2 separate regions of the Homo sapiens genome follow, and region 1 is linked to region 2. Evidence: promoter capture Hi-C in 16 types of primary human blood cells and fetal thymus (Javierre and others, 2016). All regions are on one chromosome and are shown on one strand. Each heading gives the region's core, a stretch centred on a gene start or on the middle of the fragment in contact. The rest is flanking DNA. Distances are from core to core; before and after follow the strand shown.

The links. Contacts are between HindIII fragments. The CHiCAGO score rates a contact against its expected background, and 5 or more counts as called.
Region 1: a contact is called between a fragment that was not itself captured here and the fragment with the promoter of RFPL2 in region 2, in 1 of 17 cell types (endothelial precursors). The highest score is 5.6, in endothelial precursors.

What each region holds. Positions count from the first base shown.
Region 1 is chr22:32,388,488-32,391,646 of GRCh38, reverse strand. All of the region lies in intron 11 of RTCB (RNA 2',3'-cyclic phosphate and 5'-OH ligase), which reads left to right. Among named protein-coding and RNA genes, the nearest start is that of RFPL3S, 19 kb to the right of the region's middle. The HindIII fragment of the contact is 3,235 bases long and covers 1-2,902 here.
Region 2 is chr22:32,203,766-32,206,670 of GRCh38, reverse strand. It overlaps RFPL2 (ret finger protein like 2), which reads left to right and starts at 1,598. Exons shown (of 5, transcript NM_001394555.1): 1 at 1,598-1,964. SLC5A4-AS1 (SLC5A4 antisense RNA 1) reads right to left here and starts at 1,556. Exons shown (of 4, transcript NR_149072.1): 1 at 1,424-1,556. RefSeq lists an enhancer at 1-154. The HindIII fragment of the contact is 11,730 bases long and covers 1-2,905 here.

The sequences.
Region 1 (3,159 bases), core at 36-2,535, 190 kb before region 2:
GGCCGAGGTGGGCAGATCACATGAGGTCAGGAGTTTGAGACCAGCCTGATCAACATGGTGAAACCCCTACTAAAAATACAAAAATTAGCTGGGCATGGTGGTGGACACCCATAATCGCAGCTACTCAGGAGGCCGAGACAGGAAAATCACTTGAATCCGGGAGGCAGAGGTTGCAGTGAGCCAAGATCATGCCACTGCACTCCAGCCTAGATGACAAAGTAAGACTCCGTCTCAAAAAAAAAAAAAAAAAATTTACTTATTGTCATAGTTTTTTCCTAAATGCTTTTTTTAAAGCTAGTCTTAATTATAGTTAAGAAACATTCTGTAGTTATTTTTAAAATTTTGCACATTATTATAAAATTGTTTGTGTCACTTTTTAAAATCATTGCTGAATATTCCACCAGCTGAGTACCTTACTTTCTGCCTGTAGTGGACATTTAAGTAGCTTCCAAATTTTTGCTACTATAAATTAAATTGTAATGAGTGTCTTCATGCATGAAGGTTTTTTCCAGTTGTTATAGTAATTAGAACAAAGTCTCAAAAGTGGAGTTACATGGTGGCTCATGCCTATAATCCCAGTACTTTGGGAGGCCAATGCAGGAAGATCTCTTGAGGCCAGGAGTTCAAGATTAGTTTGGCCAAAGATTAGCCAGGTGTAGTCCTAGCAACTCAGGAGACTGAAGCTGGAGGATTGCTTGAGCCCAGGACCTTGAGGTTACAGTAAGCTATGTGATTGTCCAGACTTGGTGCAAAGCAAGACCCTATCTCTAAAAAAAAATAAGGAAAAAAAGTGGAATTACTGAGTCAGAGTATGACAAAGACTTATTTTTTTTAATAACAATTCATTTTTCCCCTGATCTTAAGAATACATGGTTAATTTAAAAGATTTGGAATATACTGGCCAGGTGCAGTGGCTCAGGCCTGTAATCCCAGCATTTTGGGAGGCTGAGGCGGGTGGATCACAAGGTGAGGAGATCAAGACCATCCTGGCTAACACGGTGAAACCCCATCTCTACTAAAAATACAAAAAATTAGCCGGGCGTGGTGGCGGGCGCCTGTAGCTCTAGCTACTCGGGAGGCTGAGGCAGGAGAACGGCGTGAACGCGGGAGGCGGAGCTTGCAGTGAGCCGAGATCGCGCTACTGCACTCCAGCCTGGGCGACAGAGCAACACTCCATCTCAAAAAAAAAAAAAGGATTTGGAAAATACAAAGGAGAAAACAGAAAACATTTAGAATTCAATCAGCCAGAAATAATTACAGTTAAAATTTGGATTTTTGGTTTTTTGGTTTTGTTTTGTTTTTTCACCTGCAACACGTGATTATTTGATTCACTTACTCAGCTAACACGTACTAACCATCCGCTATAGTTAGGTACTGTTCTATATGCTAGAGATACTGCAGTGAACAAAAGAAACACGAGTCCCTTCGTTGTGGAGCTTTCCAAATAATAAAACATACAGTGTGTTAATGACCATGCAAGTTCTATGAAATAAAAAGCAGGGAAAGGTGGTAAGGAAAGGTGGGAAGGGGTACAGTTTTAAGCAGGTGGTCGGAGAAGACTTCAGTGAGGTGACAGTAGAGCAAAGACCTGAAGAGAGAGAGGAAACAGGCTACCTGGGCATCTGGAGGTGAGCTTTCGAGGCAGAGAGAACAGCAAGCGCAAAATCTGTGAGCTGAGGTTATGAAGGAGTGTTCAAGAAACAGCAAGGAGGCCAGGCATGACAAGAGCAAGCCAGAGGGAGATGAGGTCAGAGAGGTAGGGGGCGCCAGAGCATTTGGACTTTTGCTTTTACTCTGATTAAAATGAAAAAACCTTGGAGGATTTTGAGCAGAATAGTGACGTGATCTGACAAATGTGTTTGCATGTTGATGAGAAGAATCTACAAGAGAAATTAATGATGCAGAAAAGAGGGAGGAAATTGCTGGAGAAGTGTCCTTGAATAGATGAGAGGAGATAGAGTCTGATGTACAAGTGGATGGGGTTGGTCTTTGCTAGGAGCACAGATAATTCATCCTTTATAAAAGGAGAGAAGAAGCTGAGCACAGTGGCTCACACCTGTAATCCCAGCACTTTCGGGAGGCTGAGGTGAGAGTATCGCTTAAAGCCAGGAGTTTGAGACCAGCCTGAGCTACAAAGCAAGACCCCATCTCTACAAAAATAAAAAAAATTAGGCACAGTGGCACATGCCTGTAGTCTCAGTGAGCTATGATTGTGCCACTGGACTCAACCTTGGGTGACAGAGTAAAAAAATAAAAGGAGAGAAGGTATAGATACAGATATGTGGGGAAGATAAAGTTAGCATGTTTATGAATATTCTGGCTGCTTCTATTTTTTTCAGTGTATTACATAGTAAGGTCAGCAAGTGAGAGTGGGATCTGAGAAAAGGTATGAAATATTCATCTAGGGGAGAGACAGTCATTGGCCCAGTGGAATTTCATCTGATTGCCAGGAGCTAGAAATCGCCAAGTAGTACTGGGGAGTGATTCAGGCTCCCACAGATAACTACAGCCAAAGGTAGTTTGTGGTACGATGTAATGACTGCAAGATTCAAAACTAGGAGTGCCTAGGGAGAACGGGAGAATAGAAACAACCATGAAAGCCAGGAGCACACCTGTCCCACTTCTGGGACCAATGGCATGACCTGATTTGGGGAAAACAGCAGTCACCATTCAGAAAGTTGGAGATGAAAGTGGTATCCTCGGGAAAGATCCGTGTTTCAGTAAAACAAGAAGGTGAAGGGAACATTCAAAGAAGAAGGGAGGGAGGGGATTTTGCTCCTTCTGGAAGGAGTTCCAGAGGCCACAGTGGGAAAGTTTCAGAAACTGGAAGGGAATGGGAGATGGGATAGAAAAGGATATTATGTACAGAACCGTACGGGAATCAGCATGGATGGCCTAAGCTTGTATTGACAGGAATGAAGATAAAGTGAGTGTGTGATGAGATTAGTGCTAATGGTGGCAAGGCTGTGTGGGTAGGATGGAATGGTGGGAATGTTGCTGGAAAGTCACAGAAATTGTCTGTGAGTGTAGGTACACATAGATACCCACATATACATGTGCACACAGTTTTACTTTGTTTTATACATATATGAATTTTATAACTTACTGTGAAGGTACTACATGTTCATTCCAGAAATTTTGATAACTGCAGAAATATAT
Region 2 (2,905 bases), core at 349-2,848:
TGTGCTGGCCAGGAGCAGAAGGAGATGGCCCTCTAGAGACTGGAGTCCCTCTCACCTCCTCTGACCACCGCTGTCACTGACACCTCCGCTGCCCACCACCAGGGGGACGGTGCAGCCCCCGATAGCGCCCCCGACCCTCCCCCACAGCTGGCAGTGTAGCACCAGATGGCAACCCCAACCCGCCCCTGCCTCGGACACTGCAGCACCAATGGCACCCGCAACCCACCCCCTGCCTTGGGCAGCGCAGCCCGGGATAGCGCCCCCAACCCGCTCCCTGCCGTAGGCAGTGGCTGTAGACAGTGTAGCCATGGGTAGCGACCCCAACCAGACCCCTGCCGTGGGCAGTGATGCCCCGATATGGCACCCAAATCGCCCCCTACCCCGGGCAGTGCAACCCTGGATAGTGCCCCTACCTGCTCCCCACCAGGAGAAGCAGCCCAGGATAGCACCCTCAACCCACTTCCTGCCTCCAGGCAGTGCAGCCACAGATAGCACCCAAACTTACTCCCCACCTCGGGCAGTGCGGCCACAGACAGCTCACCTAAACCACCCCCTGCCAAGGGCAGTGTAGCCCCCTATAGTGCACCCAACCTGCCCCTGCTGCAGCCAGTGCAGCCCCAGATAGCACACCCACCCGCTCCCTGCTAGGCAGTACAGACCCCTGATAGCACCCAACCCACCCCTCCACCGCAGGCAGTGTACCCGGCCCTCAATAGCGCCCCCAACCAACGCCCCCACCCCCTCTCCATGGGCAGTCCAGCCCCGGTACCAATCCCAACAACCCCCCGCTACCTGTCTCAGTGTAGCCCCCAGAGAGCGCCCTCAACAACCCCCTCCCCACTGCCAGCAGTGTAGCACCCTATAGTGACCCTAACCCGTCCCCCACCACCAGCATTGCAGCCCCAAATAGTGCCCCCAACCCGCTCCCCACTGTGGGCAGTGCAGCCATGGATAGTGTCCCCAACCAGCTCCCAGATGCAGGCAATGATGCCCTGGATATCACGCCCGCCCCCGTCCCCCACAGGCAGAGTAGCACCGGATAGCAGCACCCACCCTCGCCACCAGCAGTGTTGCACCCACCAGCCCCCCACAACCTGTCCCCAACAAGGGCATCAGGGCATTGCAGCACCTGATAGTTCTACTAACTCACCCCCGCCCCCCGGCCGCGGGCAGTGCATCCCCAGATAGTGCCCCCAAAACTCCCCACTGCCGCAGGAATTACAGCTTCGGATAGCGCCCCAACCCATCTCCAGCCATAGGCTGGATAGCGCCCCCGGATAGCGCCCCCACCCCACTCCCCTCAGCGGGCAGTGACGCCCGAGGTACCACACTCAAGCAGCCCCCCAACACGGGCAGTGACGCCCTGGATAGGGCCCCCAACCCGCCCCCCACGCCACAGGCAGTACGGCCTGGGATAACGAACCTATTCTGCCACCTTTTCACCATTCTGGCTGCGCTGTAGTCACCCTCGCGGCCACCAACCGCAGCAGCGAGGTGAGCCACTGTAGGCTCCAGCCTCCAGCATGCGCGGTAGATGACTCTAGCCTCTGGCATGCGCGGCAAGTGGCTCCTCCTCCTTCTCCTCTAAGCCGGGCACAGAGCAGCTACGCAGGCCGACGCAGATGAGCCTGGAAGGGCAAGCCACCCCTCTTGGCATCCTTTATATACTGAGTTTAATGCAAATGAAGTTTCTCGACTACATAGTCTGATCGGATGAGAGAAACCTCTAGGCCTACTCTGATCGGGCTTTGTTATCTTGTTCTGATTGGTTATCCTAAGACTTGCTGTCATCCAGTCAGAACGTGAAAATAAAGCACAATCAGAGTAGACCTAGAGGTTTTTCTCTCATCCAATCTGAACATGTAGTCCAGAAACCTTACTTGCATAACCTCGGTCTGTGGGGGGAGGGGTTCTTGCCATTCCAGGCACTTCTGCGTCTGCCAGCCCATCTGCTCCATGCCCAGGTTAGAGGAGGAGTCACCTGTCCCACGCTGGAGGCTTGAAAGCCTGCAGCAGCATGGCTCGGCTCGCTGCCGTTGGTGGCGGTGAGGGAGACTAGACCGCAGCCAGAATGTAGAAAGGTGGCGGGGTGGATGAGCTATCCAGGGCTCACTGCCTGCGGCAGGGGGCGGGGAGGGGGACAGGTTGGATGCACGATCTGGAGCTGCACTGCCCGAGGTGGGAGCGGGGGCGGATTGAGGGCGCCATCGTGGGCTACAACCCGGTGGTGGGAGGCGTGTTAGGGGCAGTATTGGGTGCTGCACTGCCTACAGCACGGGAAGGTTGGGTGCTTTACCGGACGTCATTTCCCGCAGCCGCGGGGTGGCTTGCTGGGGGCGCTATCCGTGGCTGCACTGGTCGCGCTGGGGTACGGGTTGGGGGCGCTATCTGGGACATCAGTGCGCATGGCAGGGAACTTGTTGGCTGTGATATCCGAGGCGTCACTGCCCTTGGCTGGGGGCTGGTTGGGGGCTCTATCTATGGGCTACACTGCCTACAGCCAGGAGCGTGTTGGGGCGTTATCGGGGCGGACTGCCAGTGGCGGGGGTGGGGGTGCGGGTTGGGTGCTATCGGGGGGCTTCACTGCCTGGCAGGGAGTGGATTGGGTGCGCTATTTGGGGTTGGACTGCCGGCGGTGGTTGACTCGGTGGGAGGAGAGGGGCAGAGGGAATGGGTTGGATGCACTATCGGGAGCTACACTGCCCGAGGCGAGGGGGAGATGGGGGCGCCATCGTTGGCTACACCGCATGTAGTGGGGGGCGTGTAAGGAGCAGTAGTGCGTGTTGCATTGCTCATGGCGGGGGAGGGTTGGGTGCGTTATCCCGGGCGTCATTTCCCACAGCGGCGGGGGTCAGTGGAGGGGCTTGTTGAGGGCGCTATCCATGGCTGCACTGGTCGCTGAGGG